5 separate regions of the Homo sapiens genome follow, and all the other regions are linked to region 1. The links are contacts of gene promoters, found by promoter capture Hi-C in blood cells and fetal thymus (Javierre and others, 2016). All regions are on one chromosome and are shown on one strand. Each heading gives the region's core, a stretch centred on a gene start or on the middle of the fragment in contact. The rest is flanking DNA. Distances are from core to core; before and after follow the strand shown. Region 1 holds the start of LL22NC01-81G9.3 (a long non-coding RNA gene). Region 2 overlaps CACNG2 (calcium voltage-gated channel auxiliary subunit gamma 2). Region 3 overlaps CACNG2 (calcium voltage-gated channel auxiliary subunit gamma 2). Region 4 overlaps CACNG2 (calcium voltage-gated channel auxiliary subunit gamma 2). Region 5 overlaps CACNG2 (calcium voltage-gated channel auxiliary subunit gamma 2).

Region 1 (2,700 bases), core at 4-2,503:
CCCAGCTACTCGGGATGCTGAGGCACGAGAATTGCTTGAACCTGGGAGGGGGAGGTTGTGGTGAGCTGAGATCATGCCACTGCACTCCAGCCTGGGCAACAGAGTGAGACTCTGTCTCAAAAAACAAAAAATAAAATAAAGTAAAATAAAATAAAATAAAATAAAATAAAATGTCTTTTTTTTAAAGTAGAAAATGATGTTGATAGTAAATGATATTTTCTTTTTTATTTAAAAATAAAGTTGTATTTTTCTTTCTGTTTTTAAAAATTTTTTACTCATCAATATAATTGAAAACTGTCTAGAAACCACATCTGTAGAGGTAGGGAAACAGAGAAGTAAGTTGTAATCAAGAACAACAAGGTCTCCAATCTGAGCTTTGTAGAACAAACTCCAGCATGGGGAAGAAGGCAGGAACTCAGTTGTCAGAGGCCACACAGGGTGGCCCAGCTCTCAGAAGCAAGGGTGGGCCCAGGGATGAGGACAGAGGTTCAAGGAAGTATAGGCACAACTGTGACCCTGTGAACCCCTCCTTCCCCGGGTCAGGGCTGGTCCTGGAGCTGAGGATGGAGCTGAGCCTCCAGCCGGGCAGTGGGGGAGGGTGTCTCAGTCACAGAAAGAGGAAGACCCAGGAACAGGAGGCAGACAGGTCACCACTGAGAACAAGAGAGGCCTGGACAGGCAGATTCTGCAAGTGTGGCTCAAGGCATGCAGCTGCCTCTATTCCCCATTTTTGGCTCAGATGACCCCTTCCCATAAGCAACCATGTGTGTGGGCATTTCTCTGGCCTTAGCAGAACCAGTGGCCTAGGGCAAGGCCTCTTACAAGAGACAAAGTCACTGGGAGTAGGGGATAGGGGGCTGGGGGGTGGCCAAAGAGTCACATTCTGGCACGTGGAGCTTGAGGTATCTCGTCTCTGGAACATACAAGGAAAGAGGTTCTATAGGTCATTGAATTCATAGCTCTTAGGTTTGGGGGAAGAACACTTACTTAGGAAAACCTTTAGGTAAAACCTGAGAGAGCCTGCAAACTTGAAAGCAGAGCACGTAGACCGGGATGAGAAGAGGAGCCCTGGAGACCCCTGAGGACACTGGTGCCTAAGGGCCTGGCTGAGGTGCTCGGGAGGCCAGGAGGGGAACAGAGAAGGGAAAGTCAGAGCGGGAAGGAGAAAGCAGAGTGTGGTGGGAGGCATAAAAATGGAGAGACTTTTAAGGCTCTAGGAGTGGCCATGGTGCTGGTGTTGTGTCTGAGAGGTCAAGGCAGGGGTGAATCCATCTGGTTATGTGATGTGGAGCTCCTCTGTGATGCTGGCGGAAGACCATTCTAAAGCCAGGTCATAATAAATAGAGAGAGGAGTGAATAGGAAATGGGAATATGAAGACAGCTTTTTGGAAAAGCTTGATTAGAAAGAGGAGAAAGAGATGGTATGGAAGCCTAAGGTGGATACTTGATTGGGGTGAGGGAAGGGGGAGTTTTTTTTTTTAAGATGAAAGACAGTTGGTTATGTTTTCAGGTCCTAGGAAACATACCAGAAATTAACGAGATACAAGAAAAACAGGGAGTCTATTAATGGGGTGAGGAATGTGAGAGGGATAGACGCTGGCTCATACTTGGTGGCAGTGTAGGAAAGTTGAGAAACAGTGACTGGGAAACAGGGATTCTCTGAAGCTGGGTTTATTAATTCCAAATTGCCAAGTGTCTGTTGTTGGGGACATTTCTGACATTGTGAATGTGTGATCATGTGATCCCAGGTTACATCCAATCTAACCAGCAAACAAATGTCTGTCATAAGAACAAATGATTGACTGCTGCCTAACAAACCACCTCCCAAGCTTAATGGCTGAAAACAACAACCATTTATTATTTGTCACCATTCTGTGGGTTGGCTAGGCTCACCTGGGTGGTTCTTCTGCTCCACAAAGCAGGTGAGGTCATTCATGTGGCTGCATTTAGCTGGGAGCTTGACGAGGGTGGAGTGAGAGAGGGCTTCACTGGCTTATTCCCCTCCACATGGCTTCCCATCCTCCAGGGTTTCTGTCTCCACATGGCCTCTACAGTAGGAGAGCCTGGACTGCTTTACACCATGGCTGACTTCTAAGAGAGCAAAAGAAGCTGCAAGGCCTCTTAAGGCCTAGTCTCAGAAATCATATAGCTTCACCCCCACTGCCTTCTACTGGCCAAAGGAAGTCACAAGGAGGCCCAGACCCAAGGGGAGGGGAAAGAGATTCCACATCCTTATAGGAGGAGCTGCAAAGTCAGAAGGTGGAGGAGCATGCAGGATGAGAGGGACTGTGGTCACCAAGTTTGGAAACACCTGAGCAGAGTACATCTCAGGAGTCACTGTTCTAGCTGAAACTTCATTCTCAAACATAGGGAAGCATTTCAGATGCAATTTGCAGTAAACATATCTTATGCTTTTTAAACTGCTAAGTGAATGTGAATTAGATGGAAAAAATCATTTTAAATGAACATTATAATTATGCTTTTATTACATAAATGTGCATTTGTGGTAAAATTACAAACAGTGTTTTACAAAAAGGAAAAACGGAAGTCAATTGAAATTCCACTCCCTAAATGACATGCGCAGCAGGCATATAACCCCGCAGGCTCTTGGACTTACAAACAGAAACTCAATCTGTAATTCTTTCAGCCAGAAATCCCTTTTCTGACAAATTAATTCTTAAAAGATATATAGTCCTCTTT
Region 2 (2,700 bases), core at 161-2,660, 390 kb after region 1:
CCTCATCCTCCCAAGTAGCTGGGATTACAAGTGTCTGCCACCACGCCCAGCTAATTTTTTGTATTTAGTAGAGACGGGTTTTTACCATGTTGGTCAGGCTGGTCTCAAACTCCTGACCTCAGGTGATCCACCCACCTCGGCTTCCCAAAGTGCTGGGATTACAGGTGTGAGCTATCATGCCCAGTCGAGCTGGCAGCTTTTACTGACAGCCTGGATGGGAGAAGTAAGAGAGAGGTCTTGTGGATGGCGAGGAGTTCTGGCTGGCAGATGGGGCAAACATTACTGCCCTTCTCTGAGGCTGGGAATGTAGGACGAGGCTGCTGTGCGGGGAGGTGACCACTCTATTGCCGGTCTGTTTCATCTTGGTTTCTGTTACGGAATCTTCTCCCCACGGACTGTGAACAGCTTGAGGACACCACAAGGAGTGGCTGCAAATAGAGTGTCCTCCTCCCACCCATCCACCCCCTCCAGCACAGGGCCTTTCCCAGGATCAGACCCAGGAGAGGTTTGCTAAGTGAATAAACAAGGTACCGCCCGCCCTAGGGCAGCTGGCATGTTCACCCTCTTCCCAGAATGAGGTCAGAGGAGGATATTGGGTGTCAACCTGGGCCAGAGCCACCCTTCCTGGCCTCAGACAGTGTCCCTCCTTCCCATTGCCCCTCTCTCCCCACCTCCACCAGTCCCACCAGGGAACATGAGCCAGGGAAGTGTGGGGAGACCAGGTGTCAAAACCCGAGGTTGTTACTTAGAATAAAAGGGCCTGAATTCAAGGGGTGCTCCACTCTGTGACCTTTGGCAAGTTACACAACTTCTCTGAGCCTCCCGTGAACAGTGCTTTTTTAGGTCTCCCCAGAGCCCCAGTGGAACAGCATGAGGGGCGTCCACCAGGCTTCACCCGCCTAGAGTTTTAGAAGTGTAATGATCCATCATTCCGGCTTTTTTTTTTTTTTTGAGATTGAGTCTCGCTCTGTCACCCAGGCTGGAGTGCAGTGGTGCCATCTCGGCTCACTGCAACCTCCGCCTCCTGGGTTCAAGCAATTCTTCTGTCTCAGTAGCTGGGATTACAGGTGCACGCCATCACACCCAGCTAATTTTTTGTATTTTTTTTTAGTAGAGACGGGGTTTCACCATGTTGGCCAGGTTGGTCTCAAACTCCTCACCTCAAGTGATCTGCCAGCCTTGGCCTCCCAAAGTGCTGGGATGACAGGTGTGAGCTACCGCACCCAGCCCATCATCCTAGCTTAGGATCACCCAGCCCCACCCTCCCATTTTACAGATGAGGGAAAAACGGAGGCCCAAGAGGGAAAATGACCTGCCCCAGCCCGGCACACTTTCTGGGACTGCACCCTGGGAGCATTATCCAGGTCCATTATCCTGCTACCTGTCCACTGCCCAGGGCTCTCAGCCCCTTCTAGAAAACATTGCCATGAGGGGGCTTCTGAGAGACATCCCCTCCAGAAGTCATCACAACCAGTGCGGCTAAAACTATTGTGACCCCACCCCATGGTTAGGAAACATCTAAGCTGCCACTTGTACTCACTCACATCTGCAGAACCAGAGCAAAATGTTCCCCAAAAGCCACCCAGCCTTCCTGAACGCACACTGGCCGGCAGTTTCTATTCTGTCCTAGTTCATTTCTTTTTTTTTTTTTTTTTTTTCCAAGACGGAGTCTCACTCTGTCGCCAGACTGGAGCGCGGTGGCATGATCTCGGCTCACTGCAACCTCCGCCTCCCCGGTTCAAGCGAGTCTCCTGCCTCAGCCTCCCAAGTAGGTGGGACTACGGGCCTGCGCCACCACGCCTGGCTCATTTTTGTATTTTTAGTAGAGACCGGGTTTCACCATGTTGGCCAGGATGGTCTCGATCTCTTGACCTCGTGATCCACCCGCCTCGGCCTCCCAAAGTGCTGGGATTACAGGTGTGAACCACCGCGCCCGGCCCCGGTTCATTTCTTTAAGGGCTGGTTGCTACCACTACACCGATTTCATGACCTAGTAATGAGTCACAACCCACACTTTAATAAATAGCAGCCTCAGTAACCCAAAGCCCGGTGAGAGACAGCAACAATTTGCTCCGCTGGAATGATGAGCACGATTTGCTGGTGCTCCTCGCATACCAGACATTATTCTCATTGCTTCAAGTGTGTGTACTCAGTTACTCCTCATAGCACCCTGTGAGCTAAGTGTGCTTGTGATCTCCATATGGCAGAGGGGGCAGCAGAGGCCCCCGGGGGACCAGGTCACAGCTAGGAAGATGGACTCCGGCAGCCTTTCTCCTGAGCCTGTGCGACTGGTCACCAATCTCTACTGACAGCAGGAAGCAGGGATGTATCCGGCATCCTGCACAGATGGTACTCCCCAAGTTAGCTCCCTGGGCTCTCAAAATGCTTTTCATGTGCTATTATATATAGCACACGTTCATTGAACACTTGACGATGTGCCAGGCCTGACACTTGAAACATTATCTTAATTCATCTTCACAACCACCCTATGAGGGTGAGATGATCAGTGTCCCCATCACACAGATGGGAAAGGCAAGGCACAGAGGCTACAGAGCCAGTGGGGGTCCAGGAGGAGACCCCAAGCGGGCTGCATCTGGAACCCATGCTCCAAACCATAGCGTTTGACTTCTCTTTCTATTTCTCACCCACCATCTTTGTTCTCCTCTTTCTTCTTTGAGGTCTTTCTGACTCTCTCTCTCT
Region 3 (2,700 bases), core at 58-2,557, 280 kb after region 1:
ACCTTCTTCCCAGGCACCAAATAAATTCAGAGTGCATAGATCTGGGAAAGCCACTAGTTCAGTCCCAGCACCTCTATCAGTCCATTTCATTTCAGCTACTTTTTTTTTTTTTTTTTTTTTGAGACAGGGTCTCACTCTGTCGCCCAGGCTGTAATGCAGTGGTGCAATCATGGCTCACTGCAGCCTCAAACTGTTGGGTTCAAGCAATCCTCCCACCTCAGCATCATGAGTAGCTGGGACTACAAGTGTGCACTACCACACTGAGCTAATTTTTTTTTTAAGAGATGGGACCTTGCTGTGTTGTCAAGCCTGGTCTCAAATTTCTGGGCTCAATCGATCCTCTCACCTCCATCTCCCAAAGTGCTGGGATTACAGGGCGTGAGCCACTGCACCCAGCCCATTTCAGCTAACATTATCATTTAAGGTTAAATGAGGTGACCAGAGATATAAGAAGAAAGAGTGATTTTCCCCGAGAGCTACTGTTTGAGAGTCTCCTGTGTGCTGGGCCCTGGGCTGAGGACCATGTGTCTGTCACCTTCCCTGGCTGCACTGCACTCTGTAACATGGGTGTTAGGATTCTCATTTTACCCATTATATACCAGTGGGAGTGTATGTTTCCTATTGCTGCTGTAATAAATTACACGAACTTAGTGCTTAAAACAACAAAAACCTATTATCTGATGGTTCTGGATGTTGGAAGTCTAACCTGGGTCTCACTGGGCTAGAACCAAGGTGTGGGCAGGGCTGCATTCCTTCCGGAGGCTCTTGGAAGAATCTACTTGCTGGCCATTTCTAGCTCCTACAGGCTGCCTCCTTCCCTGGCCTGTAGCCACTTCCTCTATCTTTAAAGCCAGAGTTGTTGAACAGAGTCCTTCTCGTGATTCTCCTGCTTCCCCCCTCACACCTAAGGGCCCTGGGGATTACCACGTGCCCACCCAGATAATCCAGGATAATCTCCCTCTCTTACAGTCCGCTGATTAGCAGCCTTAATTCCATCTGCAACCTTAATCCCCTTTCCCATGCAATGTGGCGCACTCACGGGTTACAGGAATTGGGATGTGGACATCTTTGGGAGGCTGTTATTCTGCCGACCACAGGGAATGTCTACCCAAAGAATTCCCCTAATGCCACAAGCTCAGAACAGCACACCTGGAAAAGGCTTTAGAGCTTGTACCAGGAAGGATTCAATTTGACAATAAGCCACAGAAAAATAAAACTAACAGTGGTTTAAATAAGACAAAGAGTTTGTTCACAACCTAGTGTCACAACCTTGGAATAGTACACCTGGAAGAGATTTTTAGAGATTATATCAAGAAAGATTAGATTTGATGATAAGTAACAGAAAAATTAAATGAGCAGTGTCTTAAACAAAACAAAAAGTTTATTCTCTTTCAAGTAAACAAATCTGGGGCTGTAAACTACAAGGCTGGCCTGGAGGCTCCACAAACCGGTTAACAATGCAGACCCCTGCTCGCTCCCCACTCCATCATCCCCACAGTGGGTCCTTCAACCTCACAGTCAAGTAGGGCTGCCAGAGCTCCAGCCACTGCCTTCACATCCCATGGATCAAGGTGGAGGATGGCACAAAAAAACAAGGGCAAAGGGCACCTGTCACCTGGCTCCTGAGAAGGCTTCCTAGAAGGTATCACACAACATTTTTGCCTTAGTTTCATTGGGCAGAAGTTTGCTACGTGACCACACATTAGCTATAGGGAAATCTGGAAAAGATAACCTTTATTCTAGGTGGCCACATGCCTGGAGGAAAACTCGAGTTTCTGTTGCTATGGGAAAATGAGAGAGGGAAGTTGACTAGCGGCGACTCCACAGGGCTCATCTAGTCCAAATCTTCACCTTGACTTTGAAGAACATGAGGCCCAAAAAGGAAGGGACTTGGTCATGCCACGGAGTCAGCAAGTGGCAGTGCAGGGACTAGAACCCCTGTGCCCGGGTCCCAGGCAGCAAGTAGTGTGGGGTCTCCAGCACCTGACACGGTGCCTGGCACGTAGTAGCAGCTCACTCATGCTTGTGGGACGGAAGGCACTGTGCCATTCCACCACCACAATATTCCCTCCGGGTCACAGCCTCTGCTGCTGCCTCTTTGAGGGTGGATAGAATCCCCAGCTCTGGGAGGCAGGCCCATTGCATGCCTGAGTCTGTTTATCCGCCTTCCTCCCTCTTACATGCCAGCTGATACCCTTGGGGGAGCTCCGGGCTCCCCTATCTCTCCCACAAAGTCATCAAATCCAAGGGCCCTTCCGCATGAAAGAGCTGCAGGATTTGACCGAAGAGAAGCCTGAAACAGCACCAAGAAACGGAGGTTTTTCCTTCTTCTGGACTTGCTCTGTGACAGGGTCATCTCCTTAGAGATGAGCCTTTATATCTGAGGAGGGTTGTGGCAGCGAGCTGTTGCTGTTGTCTTGGTATGCCCTGGTGTCCGTTTTGACATGGTGAAGGGATTAGACAGGGGCCCATCCAAGCCAGGAGTGGTGGCCACTCTCCCCTTTCTCCTGCCAGCCTCAAAGCCAAAGAGCCTCCACCCTCAGACATTTGCAGCCTCTGCCAGTTCAGATGTCGGCAAAGATCCAGACACTTCCTTGTGCTTCTCTGTTTTCAAGTATCTGTCTCCTCAACCAGGTGGCAAAGCCCTTGAGACATGGATGGTGTCACATTTACCTCTGTGACCGGCTGTCCGGCACAGTG
Region 4 (2,700 bases), core at 48-2,547, 400 kb after region 1:
GGCAAAGAGGGGAAAGACGCAGGGGTCCCCAAAGCCCTTCTTCACTTTGTGTCCCCTTGCTGCGATCATGGAGAGTTAAAGAGGCTTCCTTGGGAGAAGAGCTCTGCCACCAGGGCTTCCCCAGTGTCTTTGGGGGTCTGTGAAAAAGAGGATCCTCTGAGGTTTACTGGGAGGGCTCAAGGCTGAGGGAATGGAGAGGAAAATTTTAGCAGTTCCATCCCAGTGTAAGGACCAACCCCAAAAGTTAAACTTGCACCACAGACTAAAGGTCAAGGGCATCCTGTGTTTCTCCCCTTTCTTCCCCAGAGTGACAAGGGCCAGTTCAGACTGACAGAAATCCAACAGCTTTCCTGAGCTGGAAATTTCAGAACAGTCTGCAAGTTACTCCCAGGTGACTGAAGGTCAAGGTGAGGCCCCCCTGCCTCTGCCTGCGAGTCTCCCCCGGTTTGCATTTTTCTTGACACCGGCATTTCCTGAGGTTGAGCTCTCTGGGGAGTTCTAGAGAATGGCTAGTAAGGCTTTTTGAGCTTGCACATCTCACCTGCCTTTCCTGTCTTTTGCCTGGGAAAGGAAAGTTATTTTCCCAGGTCAGCAAGGGGCAGAACATCGGCCAGCCCAGCCCAGAAGTACAGGGGGAGGTCATGGGCCCTGGGGCAGAACAATGGGAGACAATTCAAGGTGTGGTAACAACAACCAAGTTGCCCTCAGTCTGGGCAGAAACTGAACTCTACCCCTCTCCCACCCCAATCTTGCCCGCCATCCCACCAGATTCCAGACCTAAAGGGATCAAGGATGAGAGCGAAGGGAGAAGGGAGGGTCCCCAAGAAAACCGCACCCAAGCGAGCACTGTCTGAAGAGAAAAACTAGCTCCAGTTCTCCGAATTCTGGCAGAGCGTCTGGGAAGGCGATCAGTGCTTCTTTCCATGGCGCAAGGCCTGGGTTCTGGGTGTGCTTGAAGAAAGCCACTGGGGTGTGGGGTGACATCGCCATGGCTGAGAAGGGGCTAGGGGGTCCGGAGGGAAGGAGCCAGGACCGGAACTGCAAGGGCGTTGCTGCCCAGGGGTGTGGATGATTGCTCATGTCCAGCTCAGACCAGTTCAAGAAACTAACCTCCATTTATTTTCTTGGTGAGTCCTTTTTTTTTTTTTCAGACTGTTAACAGAAAAAAAATTTTAAAAAGCAGAAAACTGAAAAAAAAAATCCTGGTACATGAAATAAAGATTTTTTTTTTTTATAGCTTGGTCCTCACTTCAGTGAATTTCTTTAATTCCTTTCCCAACTCCTGGCATCCTATTTAAAACAATCCTAAAGCTACAGATTATTGGGGATGAGAGGTTTAGATGCTGTACAGTAGGGTGTCCCCCCACTCTCTAGATCATGAGTTCCCTATTAAATATCCTTTAGGGATACTTGCACGCCTCCAGTGACAGCGGGCTCACCCCCTCCAAAGATAGCACCAGCCAGTGCTAAGCAGCACTCTTTGGCAAAAGTCTTCTCTGCACACTGAATTTTAATCCACCTCTTCCTTCACACTCCAACAACACTGAATAAATCCCTTCCCTTTTCAGCATGACAGCCCCTCAGATATTTGAAGACAGAGAGCATGACGTCCTTGAGTTTTATCTTTTAGAATAAAGCAGCCCCACTCAACATCCCAGTTACACTCCAGGGTTTCCATTTTCCCCCGTGAAATTGTGCAGTTTGGAATGGACATGACCCTACCAGTTTACTCAGGGGGCTCCCTGCAGAGGGGTGCTTCTCAGGAAGAGGAGAGCCATGGAGTGGCAGAAGAATGGGGAGGGTCCCTGGGACTCTCTTAACTTGAAGAGATGAGAAAGACAAGATGGAATGCTAACAGGAGGATTTGACCTTTGACATCAGAGAAAGGCCCCATTGGAAGGATGACCTGTCATGCCCCAAAACAGCTGTCTAAGATAACAGTGCTATCTAAGATGTGTTGGGGAAGCATACTCACTGTACAGCTCTCCTGGGGCTCCAGAGAAAGGAGATGGCAAGCAGATGACACCTACACACCGCACAGACCTAAGAGAAGGTAAGCCCTGTATGACGTGGCCCGGAAAAGTCTACTCTAGAAGGGTCCAATGTTCAAAACTCCCTGTTCAACTCAGCCTCAGTCTGCTGGGGCCACACCACCAAGCCCCCACCAATCTCAATTATCTCTCTCTCCAGGCTCACCCCTAACACTTGTGGGGTCCAGGGCAAGAGTAGAAAGGGAGGCTCACTCTCCATAACTTAAGTCTGAAGATTTAACAGCTGCACATCGAACTAACGACCTTAAAAAATGGTCTATCAGCCAGGCGAGGTGGCTCACCCCTGTAATCCCAGCACTTTGGGAGGCCGAGGAAGGTGGATCATGAGGTCAGGAGTTCAAGACCGGCCTGGCCGAGATGATGAAATCCCGTCTCTACTAAAAACACAAAAATTAGCCGAGCGTGGTGGTGGGCGCCTGCAATCCCAGCTACTCGGTAGACTGAGGCAGAGAATTGCTTGAACCCGGGAGGCAGAGGTTACAGTGAGCCGAGATCGCGCCACTGCACTCCAGCCTGGGTGACAGAGCGAGACTCTATCTCAAAAAAAATTAAAATAAAATATAAAATAAAATTTAAAAATATGGTCTATCCTCTGTCCTGGCAAATATGTCCTTGTGACAAACTAAAATGTTAGGTTTGAATTTAGAAT
Region 5 (2,700 bases), core at 111-2,610, 370 kb after region 1:
AAAATATGGTATATTCAGGGAATCCTCTAGAAGAAATTCTGCCCTTGAGGAGCTTACAGACTTGCAGCTCTTTGTTCCCAAACAACAATACACAAAGAGAATATGACCAAAGCAGCTAAAAGGTGCTTGACAGCCTCGCTACCCAACCCAAAGTGTGGCCCCCGCCACTGGGGCCTGGCAGCGTGGGCACTTCCTGCAAGCTCATGAGAAATACAGAGTCTCAGGCCACTGAGAGTCACCGAATCTGAACCTGGCTTAACGTGATCCCCAGGGGCTTCCCATGCCCATTAAAATGCTGAAAAGCACTGCATAGGAGCGTAGGAGAGGAAAGAGTCTTCCCAGCTAAGGGCAATCAAGAAAGGCCTCCTGAAAGAGGTGCCATTTGAAAGAGAAGAAAAAGAAGGAGGACCTACATTGTTGAGTATCTGTTCTGGGTTAAGAACTGCACTGGGGCCCTTCACTTCTGTTATTTCATCGAGTCTTCAAAGTTAATCCCCTTACCCCCTCGGTGAGGACTGATATTGCCTTCTTACAGCAAAGGAAACTGAGGCACAGAGAGGTCACATAACTTGCTCAAATTCACACAGCTACTAGGTAACAGAGCCAGGCTTAGAAGCCAAATCTTTCTAACTCTGGAGCCCAATCTCCTCCCCCAAATCACATGTGAAGAACTAAAGGGGCCTGGCACAGTGGGTCATGCCTGTAATCCCAGCACTTTGGGAGGCCGAGGTGGGTGGATTACCTGAGGTCATGAGCTCAAGACCAGCCTGGCCAACATGGCGAAACCCCACCTCTACTAAAAATACAAAAAATTCGCCAGGAGTGATGGCTGATGCCTGTAATCCCAGCTACTTGGGAGGCTGAGGCAGGAGAATTGCTTGAACCTGGGAGGCGGAGGTTGCAGTGAGCTGAGATCGTGCCATTGCACTCCTGCCTGAGCAACAGAGAGAGACTCTATCTCAAAACAACAACAACTAAAGAAGGAACTCTGAGTGGCTGAGGAGGGCGGATCGCTTGAGCCCAGGAGTTCAAGAACAGCCTAGGCAACATGGCGAGACCCCATCTCTACAAAAAAAATTCAAAAATTAGCTGGGCACATGCCTGTAGTCACAGCTACCCGGGAGGCTGAGGTGGGAGGATCTCTTGAGCCCAGAAGGTCAAGGCTGCAGCGAGCCATGATCACACCCCTGCACTCCAGCCTGGGCAACAGAGAGAGACCCTGTCTCAAAAAAAAGAACTGAAGAGGTAGCTATGGAGACAAGAGCCAGGACAGGATGCAACTGAAAGTTGGATGAGCAATTGTTCATTGTGGTCAGCTCCTGAGTGCTGGGGACTTCAGTGAAGTGGGAGCTCAGAGCCAATGGAAGGAGCAAATTCATGGCAGGCAGGCAGGACAGACCACTTACTTCATCTCACCCTGCCCAGTGCCTAGCACACAGTAGGCATTCGAAACTACCCACTGAGACTGCCCTCTCCCTTCTTGACCCCTAGCTCTTCCTCCCCTCCCTCCTTCCCAAAAAACAAAAAAAGAAAGAAACTACCCACTGAAAGAATGAATGAACGAACGAGAGAACGATCAAACTCATAGGATGCCACACGTTCTGTTGTTGCAAACCATCCAACCCAAGCTGGTGGCTGCGCTGTGCCCCAGGGGGCTGGGGTTCCAGCCAGAAACAAGCCAGGCATGGCCCACCCTCCCTGAGGCCTCCCGAATCCCTGCCGTCAGGGAGGTATTGCCAGGAAAGCAAAAAGCCAGGAGCAGCAAAGGTTGAAAACACAGAGAAAGCAGCTCCCACTAAACCCTTCCTTTGCTTCACTTAAAAAATTACTCAGACAGCCTCCTCCCCACGCCTCAGCTCGCTCCACCGTGTCCCCTCCTGGCTCCAGAGCTGCTCTTTCAGCTTCTCATGAATATGTGGAAAATAAAACAGAGTCTGTTCAGCCCCTAATGACCAGGTTTATGAGGAGCTTATTGTATCTAAAGAAACAAGACAGCAGTTGGTGTGAGATATTAATGTGCTTTTTACAAAGCTGATGAAACCTCCTCTTAAACTACTTAATACCTGCAAGCTGCAATTCCCAGCCTGACATGGTAAACTCCTTGAGCCAGAGCTGTGCCAGCCCACGGCACAGCCCTTGGCCTTTCCGCCTCAGCGGGGCCTGAACTCACTCAGCCTGGCGGTTGGTGGGGCACTGCCACTCTTCTGGGATGGAGGTTCCATGGAGAGTCATGGTTGTTGAGCCCCTTAGCTGAATAACCCTTTATAGTTCATGGTGGGAGAGTCTTCCCTGCATCCCCTTTCCTCTGGAAGCTCAAAGCCAATGCCTGAGGGGACAGCGGGCAGTGAGACCCCTGCACTCCACTCCAGCCATCACCCACCCTCACCCTCACCCTCACCCACCCAGCCCTCTGATGGGACCAGTCCTTTTGCAAATCTCCAATCCCACCAATTTGTCACGTCTTTGTACCAGCTGACTCCTCACATAGGATCACCCTTCATCCAGTGGTGTGCTGGTACATGTTTAACAATCAGCTCCCTGGGCTGGAGGTGGGGAACTTGGTTTGTAGCATTTGCCGTGGGTTCCCATGGTGTGAATACACCTACCACGGCTGATTTCAAACTGCTAACGAGAGCTGGGAAGACACTGGTGATGAGCTCCCTTGAGCAGGGGCGAGCCGGCCCGCACACTGCTGGCTTC

The links. The method cuts DNA at HindIII sites, captures the fragments that hold promoters and counts their contacts. A CHiCAGO score of 5 or more calls a contact.
Region 2: a contact is called between a fragment that was not itself captured here and the fragment with the promoter of LL22NC01-81G9.3 in region 1, in 1 of 17 cell types (endothelial precursors). The highest score is 6.3, in endothelial precursors.
Region 3: a fragment that was not itself captured here is called in contact with the fragment with the promoter of LL22NC01-81G9.3 in region 1 in 1 of 17 cell types (endothelial precursors); the score reaches 5.0 in endothelial precursors.
Region 4: a contact is called between a fragment that was not itself captured here and the fragment with the promoter of LL22NC01-81G9.3 in region 1, in 1 of 17 cell types (endothelial precursors). The highest score is 6.8, in endothelial precursors.
Region 5: a contact is called between a fragment that was not itself captured here and the fragment with the promoter of LL22NC01-81G9.3 in region 1, in 1 of 17 cell types (endothelial precursors). The highest score is 5.4, in endothelial precursors.

Annotation. Positions count from the first base shown.
Region 1 is chr22:36,963,801-36,966,500 of GRCh38, reverse strand. It overlaps LL22NC01-81G9.3 (a long non-coding RNA gene), which reads right to left and starts at 1,253. Exons shown (of 4, transcript NR_038954.1): 1 at 988-1,253; 2 at 1-111. The HindIII fragment of the contact is 1,620 bases long and covers 1-1,396 here.
Region 2 is chr22:36,576,609-36,579,308 of GRCh38, reverse strand. All of the region lies in intron 2 of CACNG2 (calcium voltage-gated channel auxiliary subunit gamma 2), which reads left to right. Among named protein-coding and RNA genes, the nearest start is that of EIF3D, 49 kb to the right of the region's middle. The HindIII fragment of the contact is 7,086 bases long and covers 1-2,700 here.
Region 3 is chr22:36,685,960-36,688,659 of GRCh38, reverse strand. The region is part of intron 1 of CACNG2 (calcium voltage-gated channel auxiliary subunit gamma 2); the gene reads left to right. Among named protein-coding and RNA genes, the nearest start is that of CACNG2, 16 kb to the left of the region's middle. The HindIII fragment of the contact is 4,590 bases long and covers 1-2,700 here.
Region 4 is chr22:36,559,405-36,562,104 of GRCh38, reverse strand. CACNG2 (calcium voltage-gated channel auxiliary subunit gamma 2) reads left to right here. Exons shown (of 4, transcript NM_006078.5): 4 at 1-1,248. Among named protein-coding and RNA genes, the nearest start is that of EIF3D, 32 kb to the right of the region's middle. The HindIII fragment of the contact is 8,480 bases long and covers 1-2,700 here.
Region 5 is chr22:36,595,302-36,598,001 of GRCh38, reverse strand. All of the region lies in intron 1 of CACNG2 (calcium voltage-gated channel auxiliary subunit gamma 2), which reads left to right. Among named protein-coding and RNA genes, the nearest start is that of EIF3D, 67 kb to the right of the region's middle. The HindIII fragment of the contact is 7,781 bases long and covers 1-2,700 here.